Linked DNA regions of Homo sapiens: all the other regions are linked to region 1. The links are contacts of gene promoters, found by promoter capture Hi-C in human tissues and cell types (Jung and others, 2019). All regions are on one chromosome and are shown on one strand. The core of a region is centred on a gene start or on the middle of the fragment in contact, and the rest is flanking DNA. Distances in the headings are between cores, read along the strand shown. Region 1 holds the start of HAS2 (hyaluronan synthase 2). Region 2 has its middle 230 kb from the start of HAS2. Region 3 has its middle 160 kb from the start of HAS2. Region 4 has its middle 100 kb from the start of LINC02855. Region 5 has its middle 83 kb from the start of LINC02855.

Region 1 (2,549 bases), core at 37-2,536:
CGACGTGATGAAAGCATCATTTCCAGTTTATTCGACTTTTCTGTTTAGACTTATTCATTATAGCCCATATATGTGATAAGGACTAAGAACCCAGTCTTCAAGGTCCTGTCGAGTTCCAAAGAAGTCCACCCCTCAGAAGATCCTTGGAAGGGGAAGAAGGAAAAAAGAAAGAAAGAAAAATCTGTTTTACCCTATAACAATTTCAGCGCAATCTCCCAAGACCAAGTTGGTTAATTTGTAAAGTCACTCTCATTTTTTCCTCAACAGTGCCACCTACTGTCCATTTTCAGTCATCAGCAGGCTTGTTGGCAAGGTCCAAGAGAAAGAAAGGAGGCGGAGTGGTGGGGGGAGGAGTAACCAAAAAACGAACTCTACCCAGCCTTGGGGCATTGTGAAAACGACGAGGAAAGGCCATCTCCAAGCAAGACATATTTGTCCTCGTCAACTTTGCAGAAGGCTTGCAAAAAGCAAAAGCCAGTTAAGCCATTTCCTTCAAGATGGCTAAATATAAGTCCTCCAGAAAACAATTTTTATTATTTTATTTTTAATGCGCGCTGTTTGAGTATGTTTACGTTAGGGGACCAGATTGAGCAAAAATATACATATAATTACTTTTCTATGTTTTCCGCCCACCCACGGCAGAAACCTCTTTATGAGAAAGGCTTTGACACTTGACGTCAGCTCAGAAACTTTTGAGTTGGCGGGAAGAAAGGGTTAACAAGTGGTGGACCAGCGCGATCTTTTTAGAGTCCCAGCCGGCTGTCGAAGGCTCCAGGTACACACACACACGCACACACTTACACACACACACACACACGTGCACACACCCCTCCCAACTGTTCCTCCTTGGGTCGGTTACTTAGCTGAAGGGCACCATTTGGCTTTAAAACAAATTACTTCAGCGCCACAGGGAGTTTATCGCTTGGAGGGAACTTGTAACGCGGGAGTTCAGGGAAATCCAAGAGGCGAGGGCTCCCACCTCCGCCGCCAGAGGAAAGTAAGGAATCAGGTGGTGGCCCCCTATGTGTCTTGCATTTCTCTGCACACGTTAGCAATCAAGTTAATTGAATTCATTGGAGTTTAGAACCGGCCTGTAGCTCAGAGAAGGCTTTGAATGGCCAATTTCTCTCTCTCCCTCTCCCCCTCCCCGCCTCCCGCTCGCCCGCCCGCCCGCGCTCCCAGTTCCCTCCCCTCAGGGTTCCCCAGTCCACACCTCCCTCTCCACTTCCCTCACCCCCCCACTCCCTCCGCCGCCCTATTAAAACACCCACCAGCTCACTTGTTAAGACCCCCTTAAGTTGGAGGAGGCAGAAGGGCAACAACGGCGGGGAAGGAGAAGTCAAGACGTCTGGAAAGAATTACCCAGTCCTGGCTTCGAGCAGCCCATTGAACCAGAGACTTGAAACAGCCCCAGCCAAAGACTTTTCTCCCAATTCTGCGCTTCCTGGGTTCTGCTGAGTCTTCCACAGGCTTTTTTTTTTTTTTTTTTTTTTTTTAAGACGAAAAAGAGATTTTCTGTTATCGGGGGCAGAAAGACTGAAGCCCAAAAAAAAAAAAAAAAAAAAAAGAAAAGAAAAGAAAAAAGAAAAGTTAATTTATTTTTAAAGCATAATTTTTTTAAGAATTAGACTGAAGTGCAACGGAAACATAAAGAGAATATTAGTGAAATTATTTTTTAAAGTGGGGAAGAATCAAACATTTAAGACTCCCCTATCCTTTTTAAATGTTGTTTTTAAATTTCTTATTTTTTTTGGCCGGTCGTCTCAAATTCATCTGATCTCTTATTACCTCAATTTTGGAAACTGCCCGCCACCGACCCTCCGGGACCACACAGACAGGCTGAGGACGACTTTATGACCAAGAGCTGAACAAGGTACGTTACACTGGCGCGTTTTGGTGAAGGATGAAGGTCCTCCAACAGGCCAGGGAGAAGGAAGACATCCTTATAATTGTTTTAAAATTTTTAAGCCAGTTTCGATAGAAAAGTTGGAAGTTTAAAAATTTCCAACAGACTGAAGATCAGGGAATATTTCAGGTCACTGTCAGGCTTAGCAACATAGCCCTCTTTTCCCATTTCTGCGGCTCTCGCCAGAAATCCGCTGCCTTTCTGGGGACACAGGTAGCCTCTCTGCCTGGGAAAGGCTGCACGTCCTCAGATGTACTTTTCCATTTTGCATCTTCCGGAGCAGCAGAGGGGCTCCAGAGTTAGGAAACAAGAATTCCCAATGTAAGGAAAATGCATTCTGCACAGCCGCCCCACCCCTTCCCTTCTTTTTTTCCCACACACACACACACACACACACACTGTGGGGAGAAAAACTGGAATAGCCCAGCGCGTTTTACTTCTAAGTGAAAAAGTCGCTTCTTGCTGGGAATGCAAAGGGTTAAGCAATCTGGGCTTCCAGCTCCGACAAGCTGGGACCCTGGAGAAGGAGGGTCCTTCTCTACCTCCTCGCAGCTACCATCCCCTCTCGGCCACTCCCCCCTTTCCCGGGCCTCCCCTCCTTTGCACTTCCCGCACCCCATTAAAGTGTCAGGCTCGTCAGTCT
Region 2 (2,549 bases), core at 16-2,515, 230 kb after region 1:
AGAGAACAGTATGAATGTTTCTCAAAAAACTAAAAATAAAACTACCATATGATCCAGTAATCCCACTGCTAGGTATAGACCCAAAAGAAAGGAAACAGTATATCAAAGAGATATCTGCAGTGCCCTCTCTATTGCAGCACTGTTCAGAATAGCCAAGACCTAGAAGCAACATAAGTGTACATCAACAGATGAATGGGGCGGGGCATGGTGGCTCACGCCTGTAATCCCTGCACTTTGGGAGGCCGAGGCGGACGGATCACGAGGTCAGGAGATCGAGACCATCCTGGCTAACACGGTGAAACCCCGTCTCTACTAAAAATACAAAAAATTAGCCGGGCGTGGTGGCGGGCACCTGTCGTCCCAGCTACTCAGGAGGCTGAGGCAGGAGAATGGCGTGAACCCAGGAGGCAGAGCTTGCAGTGAGCCGAGATCATGCCACTACACTCCAGCCTGGGCAACACAGTGAGACTCCGTCAAAAAAACAAAACAAAACAGATGAATGGATATGTAGTACATATATACGTAACGGAGTACCAATCAGCCATTAAAAAGTGAGATCCGGGCCAGGTGCGGTGGTTCACGCCTGTAATCCCAGCACTTTGGGTGGCTGAGACGGGTGGATCACGAGGTCAGAAGTTCGAGACCAGCCTGACCAACATGGTGAAACCCTGTCTCTACTAAAAATACAAAAATTAGCCAGGCGTGGTGGCGTGCGCCTGTAATCCCAGCTACTTGGGAGGCTGAGGCAGAAGAATCGCTTGAACTTGGGAGGTGGAGGTTGCAGTGAGCCGAGATCGCACCATTGCACTCCAGCCTGGCGACACAGCGAGACTCTTATCTAAAGAAAAAAAGTGAGATCCTGTCATGTACAACAACGTGGAGGAAACTGGATGACATTATGCTCTGTGAGATAAACCAGGAACAGAAGACAAACTTTGCATGTTCTCACTCATTTGTGGGAGCTAAACATTAAAACAGTTGAACTCATCATGATAGAGAGTACAAGGATGGTTAACAGAGGCTGGGAAGGGTAGTGGGGGCAGTGGAGTGGGGATGGTTAATGGGCATAAAAGTATAGTTAGATAAAATGGGTAAGATCTAGTCTTTGATAGCACAACAGGGTGACTACCTTCAACAATAATTTTTTTGTACATTTTTAAATAACTAAATGAGTGTAACTGGAATGTTTGTAACACAAAGAAATGATACGTTTTTGAGGTAATGAATACCCTATTTACCCTGAGTGATTATTATGCATTGTATGCCTGTAACAAAATATCTTATGTACATCATAAATATATATACCTACTATGTACCCATAATTTTTCTTTTAAAGATTGAGCTCTGGAGTCAGATTATATAGGCCCATGTTTTACTAGTTGGGTGACTTTGTACAAATTGCTTGATTTCTGTCTCAGTTTTCTCACCTGTAAATAAAAATAGCATTAGTTTCCATTTCATAGGATTGCTTTAACAGTAAGAATTATTATAGTTTCTGTACCTTGAACATTTCTTACACATAGGAAGAGATGAATAAGACGAGACACCCAAGGCTTAGAAAAGTCAAGCAACTCGCCCATGGTAACACACTTAGGGAGTGGAGGAAGTAGGCCTTGCACCCAGTTTTATTTGATTCCAAAGCCTGTGTTCTTTTTATTATTTTAGCAATTTTCAAACCTGAGTAATTAACAGATACCTTTTAAAAGAAACAAAAGTTATGTTTAATAAATACCAGTGTTGCCTTAAATGATTATTAGCATGTTGCTAAAATATGTGCAAATCAAAACCTGCTTATAACTCCTTATGCATGTAAATGACTTAAGCTATAACATTCAAACACATTTACTAATTCAATGCAGGTGAAAGATGCAACACAGTTAAATTCAGTTTTCTAACATTTATTTAATGTGATGGATGTTGTTGTTCTCTTGAAACTAAAAACCACTCACAAGTGAACATCATACTCACAGCTAAGGTTCAAGTTCTCTTGTGGTCATCATACCCATACATCTGTGTGCCATGAGATCTGTCAATTTTTCCACCACTTTGCTCTGTTCCAACCACTGCAAAACCCTAACATGATGTCACTTGGCCCTCACTTAGCAGAAATTCACTGTTTACACAGTAATTCTTCCTCCATTTTTTTTTCACTTAAGCCAATGATAAAGTAGAACTACTTGGGTATAACATACTCAAAAAAACAAACCAAAACACTATGAAGATTCTCCCATATAAGGGCAATGATTGATTTTGAGATTGCCATCGGGTGGTCAAAAATGTGCTTATGTAAATAGTTTTAGTTTACCATTGATATGAAATTCCTAAATTGAAAAATCTCATGAACCTTTGGGAATACGCCTGGGGATCCCCAGAGGACCAAAGATCCTAGTTTAGGAAATTCTGAGTTGTTCTATCTTGGCCTAACTGCTGTCTCCTCCTGCCTGGAAGAAGCTTTAGCTTATTCCACACTTGAATTATTAATAAAATAATGCTTGTGTCATGATGCTACCAAGTGGAACTGGCTAGAAGGAGGTAAGAAGCAAGACTGA
Region 3 (2,549 bases), core at 30-2,529, 160 kb after region 1:
CACTAGCTAGAAGTTCCCGATTCATTCCAAGTGTGAGGTTATGAGGATGTAAACTAGGATGTTAGGCTGAAGATTATTTTGAAGTTCTGACTTTTTTGATATAATGCATATAAAAGTATTAGAAACGTAGGAACATATGATATTTATGTTTTAGTGAAAAGGGTAATTTGATAGCTGATGTCAGAACCAGATGTATTTATAGCCTTGCAGATTTTTATGTGTACCCACAAATATGTTAATTCTCCACTTTCAACATAGTTTTATTTGGCCTAGAGCAACTCGCAGAAATTTTTTTGGACCCTAGCAGCCAAATACTCAAGTAGTATCAGTAAAAGCCATATTATGAAAGTTTAAGGCATAAGTAACGACACAATAGCTGAAGGGGCAAAATTGGGCTTCAGAAGTTTTTGTCTGTTTGCATGAAAATTATGTGTGCGTGTGTGTTTATTTTGAATTCAATTATTTGTTAGCATTTGATTTAATTTTTTTCTTGTGTGCATTTTTAATTAAATAGAAACATGCTTCGCAATGTGATTTTTCTTTTTTTCTCTTAATACAAAATGGCATCTTTGCCAGTGAATATAGATCTATTTTAAAATTCTTATTTAAGAAATTATATTTAACAAAAATTATATATATTTATGGTGTACAATGTAAAGCCTTGATATATGTACACATTGTGAAATGGCTAAACCAAGCTATTTAACACATGTATTACTTCACATACTTATCTTTTTTTGATGACACACTTAAAATTGATTTTCAGTAATTTTCAAATATGTAATACATTGTTATTAACTATAGTCATCATAACGTACAACAGATCTCTTGAACTTATTCCTCCTATCTCACTGAAATTTTTGTATCCTTTGACCAACACCTCCTCAAATCTTCCAACCCTCAGCCTCTGGTACCCACCATTTTACTGTTTCTATGAGTTGGATTTTTTTACACTCCATATATAAATCAGGTCATGTTGTATTTGTCTTTCTGTGCCTGGCTTATTTCACTTAACATAGTATCCTCCAGGTTCAGCCATGCTGTCACATGATTTTCTCCTTTTAAAAGATTGCATAGTTTCCATTGTGTATATAGAGCCAGTTTTCTCTATCGATTCATCCATTAATGAACACTTAGGTTGATCTCATATCTTGGCTATTGTGAATAATACTGTAATGAATATGGGAGGGCAGATATCTCTTTGACATATTGTTTTATATCCTTTGACTATATACCCAGCAAAAGGATTGCTGAATTATATGGTAACTCTATTTTTAATTTTTTTGAGAAACCTCCATATTATTTTCCATAATGAGTGTACAAATTTACATTCCCACCACCAGTGTACAAGAGTTCTCTTTTGTCCACATTCTCTCCAACACTTGTTACCTTTTGTCTTTTTGATAATAGCCTGCCAGCATTTTAAAATGTAGAATTTAATATAAAACATATATTTTCAGGTTCTATTAAAATGTCAGATGCACCATTACTGGGCCAGTATTCCCACAAGAAAACAGTCCTGTCTCCAAATATTGCTTAGGCTCAGCTTAAAGGGACACAGGTGGCTTCTGTGGGTGTCTAGCCAATAATTAGGGGCTGTTTATATAGACTCTTCAAAAATGTTTCCTCTTTAACAGTAGAAGCGCATGAGCAATACTACTCTACAAATCACAGGCTACTTTGGTAAAATTTATTGATTAAAAGAGTGTATTGTTTTTGCTTATTTACTTAGTTTTTAAAAAGGAATATTTAGGCCGGGCACGGTGGCTCACGCCTGTAATCCCAGCACATTAGGAGGCTAAGGTGGATGGATCACAAGGTCAGTAGATTGAGACCATCGTGGCTAACATGGTGAAACCCTGTCTCTACTAAAAATACAAAAAATTAGCTGGGCGTGGTGGCGGGTGCCTGTAGTTCCAGCTACTCGGGAGGCTGAGGCAGGAGAGTGGCATGAACCCGAGAGGCGGAGCTTGCAGTGAGCCAGATCGCGCCACTGCACTCCAGCCTGGGTGACAGAGCGAGTTTCCGTCTCAAAAAAAAAAAAAAAAAAAAAAAAAAGAAAAGAGGAAATATTTAGAGAAATTAAATAATCTGGCCTCTTAATAAAATGTGTAAAATTTATGCACAGGAATAAATTTATTTCTTAAAACAAAACTATAATTTTGCTAATAGATGAGGGAAGAATTCATGAAGTATAGTAACAGTATATGGCTTGCAAGTCTAACTTTAGCCTGTGATTTATTTTTCTATATTTGCTAACATATTATAGCATACCATAGTATTTTAAAACAGTTTCAGGAACTGTGAGATTGAGTTCTAATTGAAATGCCCTAATAGATTTTTAGTTAGGGATAGTTTGATAGTAACTCACTCAACTCATTCAGACTAACTTAGGTAAAAAAGGGAATTTAGGCCGGGCGCGGGGGCTCACGCCTGTAATCCCAGCACTTTGGGAGGCCGAGGCAGGCGGATCACGAGGTCAGGAGATCGAGACCATCCTAGCTAACACGGTGAAACCCCGTCTCTACTAAAAATACAAAAAATTAGCC
Region 4 (2,549 bases), core at 27-2,526, 160 kb before region 1:
AAAGGGTTAATCTTGTCAGTGAGTAAAGTTTCCTGGTGGGTAGCTGAGTTTCTCCAGTCCCTAAATTCATTATTATAGTGTTCTTCCTCCCTTCTTATGTCTTATCTTTGCCTGCCTTATCTCATCTGGGTATCTGTGCCAGGGTTTTCACAGCAGAAAATTTGACACATACAAACACCACACACGCGTGCACACACACAGAACTGAAAAGCTGAGACACTGAGAATTGCCGACATATCTCAGGCTACTAACTGCTCTGCCAGGAACTTACAGAAAATAGAAACAAAATATTGATGAAGCCTGAATTTTAAGGAAAAATTAACATGTCTTGGTTTTCTGCTTAATTGTACTCTACACATCCCTGTTAATGTGCCATGTTGGGAAATTTGAAGCCGTCATTATCTCTGTATCAAAGAGATACAGCGTTGTGCAAAAAATAACAAATGTTAACAAATAAACTGAACATTCTAGAAAAAATTAATAAATGAGCATATTTGGGGAGAAATAAGAAAATAAGCTTATCAGTGATTAAAGTTGGAAGACAATAAGAGAAAGTAAACACATAATTTGTGAGAACTGAATTAAGAAAAACAATGATATTAATTGTAAATTGAACGTCAGAGAAAATATGTTGGCAGTGTGAACTAATTAAATTGTAGAATCTAATCTCCCAAGGGAAGGGGTGGACACTTCATCTAGCATATTAGAGGCAAAATTCTCACTGGCAGGAGTTAGGGTAAAAATGACCTAATAGGTCTTTTCCAACTCTGATTTCTATCATTTGGCTAGGGAAACCTAGCCAGGAGTTACACAATTAAGCATCTTTGTGGAAAAAAATAAACACAGAACTATCAGATAATGCAGATGCACCCCCACCCCTGAAAAAACATAAAAGCAACGATCACACCACCAAAAAAGCCACAGGATCCAAACCAGAATGGCCCAGAAGAACAATTCTTGACATGGACCATAGATAAATAGATTCATTCATTCCCCTAATTTTCTTAATCCTCAAATCTGAATGGACTAGGGTGGTGGGCTTTCAGGGGTGCTGGAAGGCAGGGGCTTTGCATAATCTTCCCCTGAAGGTTTGCTCTGTTTGGAAGAGGTTATCCTTTGAAGATGACTGGATAGGTTCCAGCAAGTTTTTTCCGACTTTCACAATCTTTTGCCCACTTTCCTTCACCCGTTCTTCTTGGCTCTACCCATCTCTGGGAAAAATGGGAAAACTATAAAACCTTAGATCTTTTCTTGAAGAATTGTGAGTAGAGCATTATATCCTAATAGGCTGTTGCCAAATCCAAACCCTATTCAAAGAAAATCCACTTTGAAAACGGAGTCTGTGGAGATGTGGACATTCCTGGGAAAATACATTTTCTCTTCTTACTTTTTGTTTTCTCTCTTTATTGGAGGGCTTAAAAGTTTTTTGGTTGCATTATTTGATTCAGGGCTTTCGTTATTCTGGCTTTTAGAAATTACCACCAATGGAGACAGAACAGAGTAGATTATACAAAAATGTCTGTGACTGTTTTGACTGGAAAAAAGACTCTTACTCAGGCAAACTGGGGAAATTAGAAGAAGAATAGCTTGGCGGTTTGTAGTTCGAGAACTAGCAACACTGAGTACCAACCCCAGTTCTGAGTCTTTTATTTCTCTCACTCTTGCCTTTATAAATGCCTATTTTGGGATTTTATCTCTGAATCATTGAAGTTAGGCAATCAGAAAAAAAAAAAACTGGCATGGATAGGTTTGACTTTGTATTTTCTCAAGAGAATTTAACAGCTGCAACCTTTTGGATAAATAACGTTCATTTTCTAGCCACAAAAGAACTTTTTTAAAGCCCGTGGAGTCCAGGATAATTACATTTTAAAGTCTACCTCTACTTGGCTTGCTTCTGTTAGACTTTCTAGCTCTGCTCAGCTCCTTAGTAGACTTCAAAGAGGAACAAACCTAGATGCAAAACTGCTTAAGGACAGTCACAATCCTAAGGGCATGTTTTGTGCAGGTATTGATAAACGAAGGGAAAGTCCAGCACAATAAAAATCTGGCTTTTCTGGTTCTTTCATATACTTCTTCTGAGGGGGGGGCGGGTATTTTTCACATTTTCTACAGTCAGTATTACTTAATTTACTCATTTTCACTCAACAAATATTTTTGAGCAGCTATTAGATACTAGGTGATCTAGACCCTGGAAATATAACATTGAAACAAAACAAAACAAAATGACATATTTTTTAAAAAAAAGAAATAAAAATAAACGTAACAATGGCATATACAAATACGAAACCAAGTTTATAGGAAATTAAGAAGAAGGGAAGATAGAGATAAAAGAAGGAAAAGAAGGAGAAGAATTCTTTCTGCAAGTCATTTTGTTTTTATTTGCAAAAGACCCAAAAACAGAAAGTTAAGGTGTTGATTTTATTTCCCTTAGAAAACTGAGTAAGTATCTTCCCACTTTAACTACTGGCTAATTTACATAAACCAAACTTTTTTTTTTTTCTGGAAAAATCTCATGGCAGTGATAACTTTTGTTTTTATAAATGAGCTTC
Region 5 (2,549 bases), core at 19-2,518, 140 kb before region 1:
TCTCTGTAATCCTCCCACCCTTAAGAAGGTTCTCTGTAATTCTCCCACCCTTAAGAAGGTTCTCTGTAATTCTCCCACCCTTAAGAAGGTTCTCTGTAATCCTCCCACCCTTAAGAAGTTTCTCTGTAATCCTCCCACCCTTAAGAAGGTTCTTTGTAATCCTCCCACCCTTAAGAAGGTTCTCTGTAATCCTCCCACCCTTAAGAAGGTTCTCTGTAATTCTCCCACCCTTAAGAAGGTTCTCTGTAATCCTCCCACCCTTAAGAAGGTTCTCTGTAATCCTCCCACCCTTAAGAAGGTTCTCTGTAATCCTCCCACCCTTAAGAAGGTTCTTTGTAATTCTCCCCACCCTTAAGAAGGTTCTTTGTAATCCTCCCACCCTTAAGAAGGTTCTCTGTAATTCTCCCACCCTTGAGGATGTACTTTGTGAGATCCACCCCCTGCCCACAAAACATTGCTCTTAACTCCACCGCCTATCCCCAAAACCTATAAGAACTAAAGATAATCCCACCACCTTTGCTGATTCTCTTTTTGGACTCAGCCTGCCTGTACCCAGGTGAAAGAAATAGCCTTGTTGCTCACACAAAGCCTATTTGGTGGTCTCTTTACACAGACGTGTGAGACACTAGGGATAAGTCTGGGAACATGGGTTGCGATTTTAAAACAGGGTGATTGAGGTAGGCTTCACTGAAACGGTGACATATAAAGAAAGACGTAAAGGAAGTGAGCGAGTTAGCCCCATGGATGTCTGGTATAAGATCATTCCAGATATATGAAATAGGCCTATGGTGGAATGGCTGGCATATTTTAGGGCCAGAAAAGAGACAGGCGGAGCAAGAGTGAGACTAGAAGAATAGAACAAGAATAGAAGTGCAAGGGGATAATAGGACACTAGATCATGGAAGCAATTGTGCTGCATTGTAGGAGCTTTGGCTTTAGTTTTGCATGAGGTGAGAGCCAGTGGAGGATTTGAGCAAACCAGTAAACATGATAATGACCTTTGTTTTAAGAAATTACTTTAACTGTAAATTGAGAACAGACTAAAGAGAGGCAAAGGAAAGGAGAACTGTTAAGAGCCTATTGCATAGAGGGGTGGTGTCATGGATCAGAGTGGTAGCAGTGGAGGTGTGAGACAACAGCAAATTCTGGATATACTTTGAAAGTAGTGGCTGGGAGTGGTGGCTCAAGCCTGTAATCCCAGCATTTTGGGAGGTTGAGGCAGGTGGATCACGAGGTCAGGAGATCGAGACCATCCTGGCTAACACGGTGAAACCCCATCTCTACTAAAAATACAAAAAATTAGCTGGGTGTGGTGGCGGGCGCCTGTAGTCCCAGCTACTTGGGAGGCTGAGGCAGGAGAATGGTGTGAACCCGGGAGGCGGAGCTTGCAGTGAGCTGAGATCGTGCCACTGCACTCCAGCCTGGGCGACAGAGCGAGACTCTGTCTCAAAAAAAAAAGAAAGTAGAACCAAAGAAAAAGATTCCCTCCTGAAATATTGAAAGCAGAACGTGAGAGAAAGAGAAGACTCAGGGACAATCCCAAGGTCTGAGAAAATGAAAGGGTAGCATTTGCACTAAGTATATTTTCCTGAAACTTATCTTGATTCACAATATATAATGAACATTATTCCATGTCCAGTCACATAGAAATACCTCATTTTAAACAGTTTCTTAGTGGTCTATTTTATGGTTATTCTCTAATTTATTTAACCAGTGTATGATTGCTCTCTTATTATTTTTCCTAATTTTCTTCTGTAAGGTTTTAGAATTACTTTTTTAAAAAATTTAATCTTGTTAATTTTTTTGAACAGACCAATGTAGTAGCCTAAATCAGCATTTAAAGAACTACTAGTGAATCTTTCAGAAATCTAGTTCATTAGCAAAATGAAACATTCATATATGTTCGTGCTACTTTATAATGCCTTTCAAGTGTTTCATTACTAGATCCACGTGTTCAATAATTTTTTTTTATTACGTTCACTGTGATCAGAACTTTGGAGAGAAATAGACTTCAATTCCATTCCTGGAGAAGTTCTGCACCCGAAAATGAAACACAGAGAGCTTTGTATAGAAAAGGGCCATGGCATAAGATAAGATAAATACGTAAGAAATGTATTCATATATTTATTATTCATATATTTATCTAATATTTAGAATAGGAGTTCATGGTAATTCTTAAGTTGTCTTACTTATGACATAAATATATAACTACATTCTTAGTCTGGCTAAGAATGGTGAGTTTATGCTATTCATCACTTATTAAAACAATGATTTAATCACTTATAAGTCCTGCCATTTATAGAAGTGGTAGGATTAATCATATAATCACATAAATTTATTTTTGGGGTTGTTTAGTTGTTTTGTAATTATTCAAGAGATATATCTATGTCACCAAAAAAAAATCTATTTACCTAGATGATAATTTTTAAATAAACATCAAATTTCTTACTTCTCTAGGTAAGGAAGAATAGACTAGTCTCTTGCTAGAAATCACCACAAAATGGCTTGACTGGTTCTATTAGTACAAGATGAACAGAAGGACCCTTCTC

Evidence for each region. The method cuts DNA at HindIII sites, captures the fragments that hold promoters and counts their contacts. A contact is called where the count stands out against the background at its distance.
Region 2: a fragment that was not itself captured here is called in contact with the fragment with the promoter of HAS2 in region 1 in 3 of the 25 tissues and cell types used here (aorta, dorsolateral prefrontal cortex and heart right ventricle).
Region 3: a contact is called between a fragment that was not itself captured here and the fragment with the promoter of HAS2 in region 1, in 2 of the 25 tissues and cell types used here (IMR-90 fibroblasts and dorsolateral prefrontal cortex).
Region 4: a contact is called between a fragment that was not itself captured here and the fragment with the promoter of HAS2 in region 1, in 2 of the 25 tissues and cell types used here (hippocampus and mesendoderm cells).
Region 5: a fragment that was not itself captured here is called in contact with the fragment with the promoter of HAS2 in region 1 in 2 of the 25 tissues and cell types used here (mesendoderm cells and thymus).

What each region holds. Positions count from the first base shown.
Region 1 is chr8:121,640,177-121,642,725 of GRCh38, reverse strand. HAS2 (hyaluronan synthase 2) reads left to right here and starts at 1,286. Exons shown (of 4, transcript NM_005328.3): 1 at 1,286-1,873. It also overlaps HAS2-AS1. RefSeq lists an enhancer at 4-627. The HindIII fragment of the contact is 13,134 bases long and covers 1-2,549 here.
Region 2 is chr8:121,409,340-121,411,888 of GRCh38, reverse strand. No RefSeq gene overlaps it. Among named protein-coding and RNA genes, the nearest start is that of HAS2, 230 kb to the left of the region's middle. The HindIII fragment of the contact is 3,904 bases long and covers 1-2,549 here.
Region 3 is chr8:121,481,970-121,484,518 of GRCh38, reverse strand. No RefSeq gene overlaps it. Among named protein-coding and RNA genes, the nearest start is that of HAS2, 160 kb to the left of the region's middle. The HindIII fragment of the contact is 3,178 bases long and covers 1-2,549 here.
Region 4 is chr8:121,798,986-121,801,534 of GRCh38, reverse strand. No RefSeq gene overlaps it. Among named protein-coding and RNA genes, the nearest start is that of LINC02855, 100 kb to the right of the region's middle. The HindIII fragment of the contact is 3,754 bases long and covers 1-2,549 here.
Region 5 is chr8:121,779,542-121,782,090 of GRCh38, reverse strand. No RefSeq gene overlaps it. Among named protein-coding and RNA genes, the nearest start is that of LINC02855, 83 kb to the right of the region's middle. The HindIII fragment of the contact is 5,746 bases long and covers 1-2,549 here.